Linked DNA regions of Homo sapiens: region 2 is linked to region 1. The links are contacts of gene promoters, found by promoter capture Hi-C in human tissues and cell types (Jung and others, 2019). All regions are on one chromosome and are shown on one strand. The core of a region is centred on a gene start or on the middle of the fragment in contact, and the rest is flanking DNA. Distances in the headings are between cores, read along the strand shown. Region 1 holds the start of TCP10L (t-complex 10 like). Region 2 has its middle 38 kb from the start of TCP10L.

The links. The method cuts DNA at HindIII sites, captures the fragments that hold promoters and counts their contacts. A contact is called where the count stands out against the background at its distance.
Region 2: a contact is called between a fragment that was not itself captured here and the fragment with the promoter of TCP10L in region 1, in 1 of the 25 tissues and cell types used here (aorta).

What each region holds. Positions count from the first base shown.
Region 1 is chr21:32,580,892-32,587,923 of GRCh38, reverse strand. It overlaps TCP10L (t-complex 10 like), which reads left to right and starts at 2,401. Exons shown (of 5, transcript NM_144659.7): 1 at 2,401-2,503; 2 at 3,619-3,763; 3 at 5,509-5,724. The coding sequence starts at 3,620. It overlaps CFAP298-TCP10L (CFAP298-TCP10L readthrough), which reads left to right. Exons shown (of 12, transcript NR_146639.2): 6 at 5,509-5,724. RefSeq lists a silencer at 2,363-2,562 and an enhancer at 3,644-4,144. The HindIII fragment of the contact is 17,408 bases long and covers 1-4,094 here.
Region 2 is chr21:32,544,076-32,551,107 of GRCh38, reverse strand. No RefSeq gene overlaps it. Among named protein-coding and RNA genes, the nearest start is that of TCP10L, 38 kb to the left of the region's middle. The HindIII fragment of the contact is 4,421 bases long and covers 214-4,634 here.

The sequences.
Region 1 (7,032 bases), core at 1,152-3,651:
CCTCTCACAAGTTTTGCCATAAGAATTTTGTGGTAGTTTGAGGAACTCAACACAGCTGCAAGTATTTCGCTGGAATCTACTATGATCTGTGTCACTTGAGGCACAGAGTGAGCTCATGTCATTCTTTGGATGACATGCACCCCTCCCTAACTTATTCCGACATTTAGTCATCCAAGAATTCACTCAGCTCTGGTGGGGTGGGCTCCAATCTCAATGGCATCTCACCAGTTCCCAGGTCATATTGCCCATTTGCAGTGATGATATTTAGAAAAGGTGATTTCTTTTGTCAGGGTCTGTACCACTATAGAAGTAGTCCTTTGAACCAGAAATTTAAACACATAAGCTACTTTAAAAAGTGTATCTGCTGCTACTCCAAGCAGCCAGCTCAGGAACTGGCTTCTGATTTTAAAAGATGAGTGAAAGGTGTGCCGTGGTTTCCTCTACAGAATGTTCAGACCAGAGGGCCCTGGAAGACCATGCCTGAAATGCGGCTAAGGCACCGCGAGGCTGAACAGAAAACCGGGGCCTTATCAGAGAGAAGAGAAGGGCCCCACAGTCCAAACGCCCAGGAGCCTCCGCCCTGACCTGCTGCCGCACGTGGTTGCTGCAGGGTGAGAATCTGGGGAAGACTCAATGAAGAAAATGTCCTGGCCAGGCCGGGAAGAGCAACACACAGAGAGCCGCAGCAGAGACAGGGATGGGGGGACCCTGCCCTGGGAGCCGCCCGGCTGAGGCTCAGGAGGGGAGCTGCAAAGCCTGAAACCTACACAACCTCTCACACACTTCAGGACACACACAACCCCTCACGCACCTCAGGGACTCACACAACCTCTCACACACCTCAGGAAGCTACACAAACTCTCACACACCTCAGAAACCTACACAAACTCTCACACACCCCAGGGACTCACACAACCTCTCACACACCTCAGGACACACACAACCCCTCACATACCTCAGGAACCTACGCAAACTCTCACACACCTCAGGACACACACACAACCTCTCACACACCTCAGGACAAACACCCACTCACACACCCCAGGACCCAAGCACAACCCCTCACACACCTCAGGACACACACACAACCCCTCACACACCTCAGGAACCCATATAAGGAACCCACACACCTCAGGCTCATACACACAAGCCCTCACACACCTCAGGAATCCACACACAACCCCTCACACACCTCAGGGTCTCACACACAATGTTGACACACCTCAGGGTCTCATACACAAACCCTCACACACCTCAGGACCCACACAATTCATCACACTTCTCAGGACACACATAAAACCCCTCACACACCTCAGGGGCCCATACATAACCCCTCACACACCTCAGGACTCACACACAATCCTCTCACACACCTCAGGACTCACACAACCTCTCACACACCTTAGGACCCACACACAACCACTCACACACCTTAGGACCCACACACAACCTCTCACACACCTTAGGACCCACACACAACCACTCACACACCTTAGGACCCACACACAACCTCTCACACACCTCAGGGACCCACACACAACCACTCACACACCTCAGGACCCACACACACCTCATACACCTCAGGGACACACACAACCCCTCACATACCTCAGAAACCTATATAAACTCTCACACACTTCAGGACAAACATACAACCTCTCACGCACCTCAGGACACACACACACACACTCGCACACCTCAGGACACACACACACACTCTCACAGTTAGAATGACACATGGGGACAAAAGTGCCTTCTGTTTCCTCTTTGTAGTATTCTCTTCATTCATTCATGACGTCGGCATTTACTGCCTATTGCATGCGAATCGCTTGCAGAACTATCCAAGTGACACACGTCCCAAGCAGGCTCAGGTGAGCCCCAGGTGTATGTTGTCCACACGCAGCACCATGGATGAGAAGGACAGCCAGGGTTTAACAGGAATATCGACTCTTGCTTGCTCCTCATTCTCTTCTCTATCACAAAAATCACACGGACAATTCAGATGGAGATGCATTTAGTGAAATGATGAAACTTTGAATCCTGTCTCCTATTTAAACTCACATATATTATTTTCCCTTCATAAAAATGTTTTTTCTAGTAAATAATTTGATATCCGAAGAAAGTTTGTATTTCTCCAAGAATGTATGCTCAGAGAAATGAGCTCTTACTACACGTTGCGTATTGAAGACTGGATATAAAACACATGGTTTTTGTCAATTTGGAGGAGTAGTTTGACTCTCTCCAATGTCCTTTGTGGATGGATGGACTCCACTGACGATGAGCTTCTATATTAAGAATTGCAGGTTTGGGGATGTTTAATTATTATCTGAGCTGGTACAGTGGTGACGCTGAGTGAGACGTTCATGTCCCTTTAAGACAGAAAGTCCGTTGGAACTGTCCGCTGCTCTCTGGTCTCTGGATATGAGGCAGGAGGGCTTGGGGACAACTGTGGGGACATGGCCCAGATGATCTGATCCTGGCAGTAGTGACTGTTGGGGACCAGGTGAGGTGACGAGGTCTGGTGGTGGGGCTGAAGGAAAGGGTCTTCCCTGGACTGAGGGGGTCATGAGTTTGGGGCCGAGGACACTGGGGTGTCCCCTCAGAGGAGCAGGAAAGAAGGAGCTTTCTCAGGGCTGTGAGGACCGTGACCCCAGCCCACTTCCGCAGAAACATTCCCAGTCTCCGCGGGGAAGGAATGGCAGTGATCTGGTTACTGGTAGGTCTTGCTCTAGACCTTCGATTCGCTTCCATCAGGAGACTCTCTTTTAAATAGCATTTCTCCGATCACTGTGGTTAAACTGTTCCTTCTCACACAGTTAGAAGTTTATGAATTAAACAGTCGGGGTTTCGTTGGGGGCCACTGGCTTCCTAAAACGGACAGGGCAAGGCAGGGGTGGAGGCAGCTTTCAGAGACGACCCTGCAGGCTTGCAGGAAAGCTTTGCGTTTTTCTCTTTCGTTTTTGTTCTCTAATTGCTGTGAACTTCCTAGAACTGGCATAAATGCTGTACCTATAAAAAGGTGTTTCCTTTCCACATCTTCACCATGAATTCACAAATGTCACCCTGATGGTTCAAGACACATACTCAACACGGTGGAGGGTCTGCCTGTGCCCCTCCAGGTGGGTGCTGATTAAAGGGCTGAGAATTCCCTCGGTGTCTCATGCGACCCTCCACTCACACCTGCTCACACCCTGAGACCATTCCACTCACACCTGCTCATACCCCAAGACCATCGTGCTCACATCCGCTCACATCCATTCACATTCCGCTCATATCCTGCTCACAACCCACTCACATCCCACTCACACCGGCTCACACCCCACTCACACCCCTCTTTGGATGACTGGAGTGTGTTAGGTGTCAGGCTGATCTTCTAGGATCTAAAGCATTTTCCACGGAGGATGGTGGAGAGCCAGGTGTGGACAGCTCAGTCCCTCTGTCTGTGGTGTCCTTTCACCTGGTCAGCTTCGGGCCTGGGAATGTGCACATGACCCAGGGGGAGAAGGAGCGGCTGCGGGTCCTGCTCACCCTTAGTTTGGGGCTGGGGCCTTCAGCCCACACTGACGGGGTAGGAGGGCTGCATTCAAGTGTCCCCATAGCCCTTCCCTTCCCAACCAGGATGCTGGCAGGTCAACTCGAGGCCAGGGACCCCAAAGAGGGCACCCACCCAGAGGACCCGTGCCCAGGAGCTGGGGCTGTCATGGAGAAGACAGCTGTGGCAGCCGAGGTTCTCACGGAGGACTGCAACACTGGGGAGATGCCAGTGAGTTGAGCTCTGTGGGGACAGAGTTAGTCCCACCAGGCGGGACCCTGATTCCTGTCCCTGAGGCCCGTCATTGGACTTTCCCTTGCTGGACCCCTGTAGGAATGCACCACCCCGGGACACTGATTCTGTACTTCCTCTCCAAGGGGCATGTGGCTCTTTCCCCCTCTGCAACCGTATCTCTTGGTGGATGGGAGGCAGGGCAGGGAGTTAAAGAAAATATTAACATTCCAGCTTTTCTCCTCTAATCCAGGAGAAGGCACCAGACTTTAAAAACTTCATTAAAGAAAATCAGAAAGTTGACATGCCTCACATCATCCCAGCAAGTTTCCTGATTTTTACCATCTTCCTCATTGGACCCTGTTGGACAGTGCTTGCTGTCATTAAAGTCCCACGGGTCCCTGTGGCCAGGGCCACCCAGTGCAGGACTGTACCTTTATCACGATCCCACTTATTCTCAGAGCAAGGCTGGAGGCTCTACGATCCAGTGAAGGATCCCAGGGGAAGGCTAACATGTTAGGTTGAAAATGCAGTGGCTTCCATAATTTTTTTTTTTTTTTTTTTTTTTTTTTGAGACGGAGTCTCGCTCTGTCGCCCAGGCTGGAGTGCAGTGGCGGGATCTCGGCTCACTGCAAGCTCCGCCTCCCGGGTTCACGCCATTCTCCTGCCTCAGCCTCCCACGTAGCTGGGACTACAGGCGCCCGCCACTACGCCCGGCTAATTTTTTGTATTTTTAGTAGAGACGGGGTTTCACCGTGTTAGCCGGGATGGTCTCGATCTCCTGACCTCGTGATCCGCCCGCCTCGGCCTCCCAAAGTGCTGGGATTACAGGCGTGAGCCACCGCGCCCGGCCGGCTTCCATAATTTTTAAACTATTGACCATATATCCATGCCAGTACAGCCTTTGAGACCAGTCTGGCCAACATGGTAAAACCCTGTCTCTACTAACAATAGAAAAATTAGCCAGGTGTGGTGGCATGTGCCTGTAATCCCAACTACTCTGGATGCTGAGGCACCAGAGTTGCTTGAATCTGGGAAGTGGAGGTTGCAGTGAGCTGAGACTGCGCCACTGCACTCCAGCCTGGGTGACAGAGAAAGACACTGTCTCAAAAAAAAAAAAAAAAAAAAAAAAAAAAGGAAAAGAATGCCAGCCTCTTTTTGCTGTAGTAGTGTTTTAACAAAAAAATCATAATTCACTAACCATCTTTATCTGGTTATATTATGTGGACTAACTCATAATAAACACTACTTAATAAGAATAAAGCTATGGCCAGGCATGGTAGCTTATTCCTGTAATCCCAGCACTTTGGGAGGCCGAGGCAGGTGGATTGCTTGAGCCCAGGAGTTTGAGACCAGTCTGGGCAACATGGTGAACCCCCATCCCGAGTAAAAATACAAAAATTAGCGAAGTATGGTGGCACATGCCTGTAGTCCCAGCTATTTGGGAGGTCGAGACAGGAGGATCGCTTGAGCTCATCAAGTTGAAGCTTCAGTGAGCTGAGATCATGCCACTGCACTCCAGCCTGAGTGACTGAGTGAGACCCTGAAAAAAGAAAAGAAAAGAAAGAAAGAAAGGAAAGAAAGAAGAAAGAAAAAGGCTGTGGTAGTCCTGTTTATCTCATCGGGTGTCTTTTATTCCAGAAATAGTGTTGGTCTTACATCAGAGAGGGCTTGAGTATTTTGCAGATAAATGTGCCCATTGTGACATCTGAGAGGTTTTTCTGGTGTTCTCTTCCCAATAACAGCCATTACAGCAGCAGATCATCAGACTCCACCAAGAGCTTGGGAGACAGAAGTCTCTGTGGGCTGATGTTCATGGAAAACTCCGGAGTCATATAGATGCTTTGAGGGAGCAGAACATGGAGCTCCGAGAAAAGCTGAGAGCTCTGCAGCTGCAGCGGTGGAAAGCCAGGAAGAAATCTGCAGCGTCCCCACACGCGGGGCAAGAATCGCACACTCTGGTACCAAAAGCGCATTTATGTTTTTGTACCGTTTGCGTTATGTAAAAATAGCGTCCCCATAAAGATGTGGGCTTTATTGCTGAATGACGCGGTATCACTCACGCTCCGGGTGGTGGGAGGGGTTGCTATCTTTCCATCAACTCCATTTCCCGTAAGTAATGATTAATAAGAACTGGATACATCAGGCCTCTCACCTGGCACTCCAGCAGACAGAAGCATTGCCGCCCCCAGGCCGTGTGTCTCAAGTCCAGAATTCTAAGACATCTCATGATGTCTCAGGACAACAGCAGCAAACCCTTACTGTGGACTTTACATGGGCTAGGTACGGAGCTTTACGGTCTTACTCTCTATGACGACCCTATGAAATGGATCCTATTACTAACCCCATCGTGGCCACGGGCTGGAGAACGTAGAGCTGGGATTTGAACCCAGGGTGACTCCAGAGCCAGCTCAGTAGCCTGGTGTCCTTCTGTTCATCCTCTAGGACAGCTGTGTAGAATGCAATAGAGACCTGTTGAAACGGGAAAAGTTCCCTTGTCCCCCTCGCAGGGTGTGCGATGGGGGTGTGGCTCGCTTCTTTGGTTCCCCACTGCTCAAACCTCTAGGGGAGTGTACAGACCGGCAGGCTATGGGGCTCTGACCCCACGGCAGTGTCTGGGGGTGAATGTTTCCAGCTGAAGCCCCAGAGGGTGTGTGTTACAGTGCGGGAGCTCTTTCAGTTTACCCCTCCGTAGGCAGCTTGTGTTTATCAGCTCAATTAGACCCTCTGCCTTATCACAAGGACAGAGGGCTTTCTGTATCCTGGGTTCTTGCCTTGGTGTACCTGAAAAATCAGATCACACATGGGCTTGGAGGATGGGTGCAAGGTTTTTTATTGAGTGGTGATACCTGTCAGCAGATGGGGGAGCCAGAAGGGAGATGGAGTGGGAAGGCAGTTTTCCCCTTGGGAGTTGGGCTGCCCAGTGACCGGGCTCTCCCCTGACCACCCCAAGCAAACTCCGTGTCATTCCGCCAGTCGATGGCCTGCTGGCGTCTGCTGTGTCTGCTGGTGTGCTCTTCTGCCGGTGTGTTCTTCTCGACATCCAGCCGCTTGGTCTCTGCCCGCTAGGGTCTTGGGGTTTTTATAGGCATAGGATGGGAGTGTGGCAGGCCACGGTGGTCTTGGGAAATGCAACATTTGGGCACAAAAGCAGAAATGCGTAGGTCCATGGGCACAGGCCCAGGGGTCGAGCCCTAGCCAGGGACCCCGTTCTTCTCCACCCAGGACTTTCCTGCCCCCATCCTGTATCACTAACCTGCTCTATCCCG
Region 2 (7,032 bases), core at 1,175-3,674, 37 kb after region 1:
GTTTTCATCCAAAGCCAAGAATTGTTGCTATTGACTTTTATCCACTTCCTAAGCACTGCATTTCTTTCAGGCTTCATCCAGGGCAAAATCCTTCATTCAGAATCTTTTTCATCGCTTTAAATAGTCCTCTCACCTTTGTTGAAGTTTTCTGCCTTTAGAGAGACGAGGTCAAATCTGCTCCAACAGTGGAAATAAAATAGGGGAGGAGGACTAGCTGTAACCTTTGTGCTTAAAACTTGAAGATGGTATACAATTTTTTTTTTCAAAAAGAGATCTACTGTTTGACTATTCTGATCTCTTAAGATGCATCTGAAAAAATACTATATTTTGAACAGAAAATGTTAAGAAAATGTCTGTGCTAACATATATATTTCAACAAGTTTTTAGAGAGAAAAAATGATCTCCAAATTGAGAGACTCAGCCTGGTTCTATGATATCTGTGTAGCAGCAGGGTATAACAAAGCTAAAAATTTAAGGCAATTTTGACACCTTAAAGCAGAATGGCACAGGCTTTTAAACCCACAGAGGATTCAGCCTGCTCACTCATTACTTTCCACATCTTCAAAAGGACAATGTCTCTTTTTTAACCTTTTGACTTTGCTGTGAAACCATGGGAAGTTATTGACTTTACAGGCACTTCAAGTATACAATCAGGCAGAAAAAGGGCATTGGTGCACTCAGGGGCTGCGAGTTCAAATTCTCGTCTCTTTGTGGCATTCTCCTCCCCACTCAGACAGAATTGAAAAGGGCAGGACAAACAGAGAGGGGCTGCCATGGGTTTTGATGGGGGCCCTTGCATTGAGTCACGGGCACCTGAAGCCATTTGGCTAAAGAGAGGCTCCTTTCTCGTTTCTGTTGTTATTTTTTAATCTGACAGCTCCCAGGGTTCCCTCGGATGGTGTGCTCAGAAATGCCATACTTCCTTGTAGCCCCTGCAAGCTAAAATAATGAACAAGCAATTAAATCTCATGCTTCAGGGCCTGTGTTGATTGCTTGCAGGAGAGGGGCAGAGCCCTGCCTTGTTCATTGCATATGGGGCACAGGGCCTGGCTGTTTCCCTTGCAGGAGAAGCACCTGCTACCAGGCTGTGTCAGGGGTGGGCTGCAGGGGTGCTTGGGTGCTAGAGGAAAGGGACTTGATGGGAAACAAAGGTCCACCGAGTCACCTGTATTGAAAATGGGTGCTGGCTGATGTTGTCCTCCTAAGGTCTTGGCAAGACTGTTACTTATTAGCAGAGCACAAGTGGCTGTGACTCCTCTTTTTCTTCTTTATTATCCTTTGATGAATTAATGTGTACTAGGAGCATGGTTTCTTCTTTTTTATTATTATCATTAAATAGGTATTCTTGGTTTTGACTGAAAAGTGGGTTTTGTTTAGCTAGTTGCTGGGAGGCTAACTTTTGTCTTCTTGACTTTCCTATGCAAGCTACTCAATTTTGGAGAGGAAGTGTCAGGGATAACGATAAGATAACTTCCCCAAAGTCACAAAACCAGTATGTGGCAGAGCCAGAAATGGATCTGAGTAGTTTGGGGAATGAGGAGTTTTAACTATGTTGCTGGTGCACCTCAATATTAATTAATTTAAAAAGTAATTAATAAATCACTTTTTAATAAATATATATGTATTGAAATTCTACTGGGGCTTTGCCACTGGGAATTCATGGATAAGCAATATATAGCTATGTCCTGCAGTACTGGATTATGTATTCTAGCACGGGAGACTGCCATTGATGAAAAGGCCCACGTTATCTTACAACAGCAAATGTACTAAATACCCTGAAAGAAAATCAAGTGGTGAGGTAGGAATGCCTAAAAGATGGTCTCAACTGGTATAAGGGGTCGTAGACTACCATCCTGAAGATGTGAACTTGAACTGAGGCCCGAAGGATGGCTAAAGGGGAAGGAAGTGAGGTAATACAGGGGCAGGAAAGCCATGGGAGGTGAGGCTGGCCGGGAGCCAGGGTCAGGTCCTGTGGGGTCGTGTACATCTCCTTAAGGATTTTAAAACAAAAACAGGCTCACGCCTATAATCTCAGCACTGTGGGAGACCGAGGCAGGTGGATCACCTGAGGTCAGGAGTTCAAGACCAGCCTGGCCAACATGGTGAAACCTCGTCTTTACTAAAAATACAAAGAAATTAGCTGGACGTGGGGATGCGCGCCTGTAATCCCAGCTACCCAGGAGGCTGAGGCAGGAGACTCTCTTGAACCCAGGAGGCAGAGGTTGAAGTGAGCCAAGATCGTGCCATTGCACTCTAGCCTGGCAACAAGAGCGAAACTCCATCCCCCCAATCGAAAAACAAAAACAAAAACAAAAACAGATGCATGGGACTTAAACTAAAAAGCTTCTACACAGCAAAAGAAATAATCAACAGAGTGAAGAGACAACCTGCAAAATGGGAGAAAATATTTGCAAACCATGCATATGATAAGGGGATAATATCCAAAAATATATAGGGAAATGAAACAACTCAATACTAAGAAAACAAATGTTAGAATGGCTATTATTAAAAAGACAAAAACTAACAGATGTTGGTGAGGATATGGAGAAAGTGAACTCTTAAACAGTGCTGGTGGGCATGTAAATTAGTACAACCTCTGTGCAAAACAGTATGGAGATTTCTCAAAGAGCCAAAAATAGATATACCATTTGATTCAGCCACTCCACTACTGGGCATCTACCCATAGGAAAAGAAATCAATATATCAAAAAGATACCTGTACTTTTATGTTTATTGCAGCACCATTCACAATAGCAAAGATATGGAATCAACCTAAATATCCTAAATTGAATGAAGAAAATGTGGCATATAAACACAATGAAATACTATTTAGCCATAAAAAGGAATGAAATCATGTCTTTTGCAGCAACATGGATGGAACTGAAGGCCATTACCTTGAGCAAATCAACCCAGATACAGAAAGACAAATATTGCATATTTCCCACTTGTAAGTGGAAGTGAAAAAATGTGTACAAATGGCCATAGAGATTGGAATAATAGACAATGGAGATTTGGAAGGATGAGGGAGCGGGAGGGGGTGGAGGATGAGAAACTACTTAATGGGTGCAATATACATTATTTGGATAATGAATATGTAAAAACCCCGACTTAACCATTATGCAATCTATGCATGTAACGAAATTGTTCTTGAACCCCATATATTTATATAAATTTAAAAAAAAGATTTTATTTTTGACCCAAAGAGCAATGCAGAGCTGTGAGAGGACAGAAGTAGGGAAATGACACCACAACATCTGTGCATTGAGAAGGGCGCTCTGCTGGGGCACGGCAGTGAGTACGATGGGATGGTTTAGGAAATAGGTGGGTTGTACCTCAGACCGGGGTGGTCCAATGAAGACGTAGTTCTGAAGGCATATTTCTGAGCTCTTTAGGAGGGAGAATGGACAGGGCTTGTGATGGCTGGGGTTGGGGAGCAGGTGAGGGGTCTGGGATGACTCTTTGGGTGTCTGGCTCGCACAGCTGGATGAGTGGCAGTGCCACTAGCTGAGAATAAGAACATGGGAAGCCCGCTAGATTTAGGAGAGGACTCAAACTTCATTTAGACCTGTTGAGTGGGAGATACCCCCCAAAAGAAGGTATGGTGTGAATAGTTGCCTATAAAGGTCTGATATTCAAATGAAAGATTGGAGGCATCTGAAAATGGAAGCTGCCAGTGTGGATGAACCATCTTAAAGAGAGGCTACTAAATAAGAATGAAGACTAGGACTGAGATGCCAGGACTCCGGTGTGTGTGGGCCATGGTGCAGAGATGTAGGAGTGCCCAGAGCAGCAGGAAACTTGGAGGGTGGGGCACCTCAGGGTGGGAGAGGCTGCTTCAGAAAGGAGGGCCGGCCGGGGGTGGGGTGGGGGAGGAGGGTGCCATGGAGCCCACCAAGGTGATGATTCACTCAAGGATGGGTGTGGACTCACCCTTGAAAACACTGTAAGGCAGAGATTATTATTATCTTCCTTGAATAGATCAAGGGACTGAAGCTCAAAGAACTTAAATAATTGGCTTCAAATCACACAATAAATAGGTTGTGGAGCAGAATTTGAAGCTGGTTCTCTAGGTCCAGATCCCCTGCGCCAGCCCTGTCTCTCTGTAGCTTTATTTCTTTCACGTTGAAGCATTTTTTTTTTCTAGAAAAGGAACAACATAATGGTATTTTGGTTTGTTAAGTAATCATGATGGGAAAAAGAATGACAACTGACATTTAATGTGAGGCTTATAAAATGATTAAAGGGTTTGAATACTGTATGATAAATAGGCTTTTAAAATCCACGTATCTGACCTCTTATTAGGCTGCTTATTTCTACACTGACAGTGCAGCTCAAACAATTGCTGAAGAACTGCATATATCTTCTGCCTCAATTACTTTCTTTCAGAGACAATTTAGTAACGATGACTTTTCTGAAGTTAGCCAATGTAATTCAAAACCAGATAGGTAAAAGAGAGGCCAGTCATGAAGGATGTGAACGAATATCACGTTGAGGACTAAGAGAATTAAAATGAACTGAGGATTTCTGTTTTTCCTGTCTTTATGATGATCAGAAACTGAGGCAAAAGGATTAAGTATATGTCTGTTGATTTCAAAACACAATGCATGGAAAATTCACCTTCAAATGACATGTGGATTTGGAAAACTCAAACATGGACTGGAGTGGATTGGACTCTAGGGGTTTTAGATATTCTGATGTTTGTGGTAGTACGGATGATGAGAAGTTGATGAGTCTAGGAATATATGAGTCGCTGGCCTGGAAGTAATACAATGATTCAGATTGGGAGTTGGGAAGGTCTACGTCGTTATCCATGGGGGAGGTTGCTAGAAAGGAAACTATTTAAACACTTTAAAGAAACACAACTCTGAAAACACCTAGAACCTGAAGAGTGAGGGGAAACAGACAGGGTCCCCAGTGGGGTGACTTGGCTCTTTTTGAGGGGCCCTATAATGTCCTGGGCTTAACGCTATCTCTGCCCTTCCACCATGCACTGTAATGGTCTGATAACTGGTCTGCTTCATAAGAGCATGAACTTCTTACGGCAAGGACTGTGTCTTACTCACCTTTGTGTCACTTAGTTCAGTGCCTGGATCATAGCAGATGTTTGTTAAATAAATGTTTGTTAGAAGGTTGAGCAAGTAAACAAATGCCAGGAAAGGTGAGAATTTGAAAGAAGGCTAGGGAAAGGGAAGGAAGAAGGCTTTGGTCTCTGTGCTAGGAGAAGGAGAATTTGGGAAAATCGTGTATTTATGTATGCCCAGAAGAGTATTATTCATGGCTTGAGTGTGAATCTAAGACCTGGATACCTTTTCTGACAGAAAGGTATCACATTCTTCAAAATTAAAAGGAGAAGATGCCTGAAGAATTGTTCAGGTGCAAAGAGAAATTCCATCAGGAATCCAGCAAGGCGGGGTTGGGTTCTAAGATGAAGACTTGAGCAACACAAATGTATGAACAACCAACAGGAAGCGGAGCCTGTCCAAAGCCTGATTTACTTAGTGAGGCTCAGCTCATTTGATTTAGGAGGTGATTTTTGTAACAAATTTTTGTCCTGAGGTGGCCAAAAAGTTCTTTAGTGCTTAAAGCTGATGGAGTGTGGGTTAGGAAAATAAAAACAGCCCAGGGGGAATAGATGTCAAGGAGGTGTGGGAAAAAGACCCTTATTCCAAGGGTAAGATCTTTGGAGATGGGCCTCTCCATCCCATTTTCTTGCTTTGGGCCCTGGGAAGGAGGGGGTCTTAGTCCTCAGCATCTCATGAGATTAAAAGTAAATTTAGGCCAGGCATGGTGGCTCATGCCTGTAATCCCAGCACTCCAGGAGGCCAAGGCGGGTGGATCACTTGAGGTCAGGAGTTTGAGACCAGCCAGGCCAACATGGTGAAACTCTGTTTCTACTAAAAATACAAAAATTAGCCAGGCATGGTGGTGGGTGCCTGTAATCCCAACTACTCGGGAGGCTGAGGCAGGAGAATTGCCTAAAAACCCAGGAGACAGCGGTTGCAGTGAGCCGAGGTAGCACCACTGCACCCCAGCCTGGGCGACAGAGAGTCTCCATCTCAAAAAAAAAAAAAAAAAAGTAAATCTGTTCAGTGGTGGAGAAGAAAAGAAGTCAAACCTTGAGGACCAGTTGCTTGATGACCAGTCTCATTTGCTTATTTATAACAATAGCCCTTTCCTGATTGATTCATCGGAGTCAAGGATATGGCTTGAACAGTGCATTCTTGAAGGCGTAATTTCCTTTGTGACCTCACAGAAGACGTGATCCCTGAAGCTGGGCCTCCAACTATCCTGAAGTTCAGAAACAGCTGATGGATCATTAATTTTTCCTTTCTTGTGTGGGCCAGGAAGCTCTCTGGTTAAGAAAACTTTGCCCATCAGGGACATTAGTTAATTAACTAATTAAATTAATCAATTAGCTAATTAATTAGATTAAAGAGGCATCATTGTAATTTACTCTATTTCCTATAAATTAGATTATTGAAGGAGTTGCTTTTTTTGATTCCTTGATAGTATTTGCCACTCCATGGTGTAACATGATAGGTTAAAAATCAGTCAAATAGGGAATGATGAAGATAAAAATAACAGTCATGGACTTTAAACTCATGCACATTAAAGTAGTGAAAATATGTGCTTTTATCTGAATTTCTTGCTATGAGGCTTTGGGAGTGTTTCTATAGATAATATTTTAATGAATTTTTTATTCCAAGTTTTCAATGTTACAAAAGGATGACTTTTAGATTTTTCTTCAGTGCAGGGGAAGAAATGAAAGGCAAGACTTGATTCTCTGCACTAATTAAGAAGTGAAGAGCTAGAGAAAAAGCCAGGCAGCCTCCATAAAGGGTTTGGAGTCAGACAGCTGCTTGTACCCTGACCTCTGACAAGCATCTTAATCTAAGTCTATAAAATGGGTATATCTCAAAGGAAGCTTGTGATGAGGAAATGAGATAACGCATGTATTGTGCCTGGCGCCGTTACCCATACTAGTGCATAGAAGTACTTCATAAGTGTTGGCTGTTATTTTTCTTTTTTCACA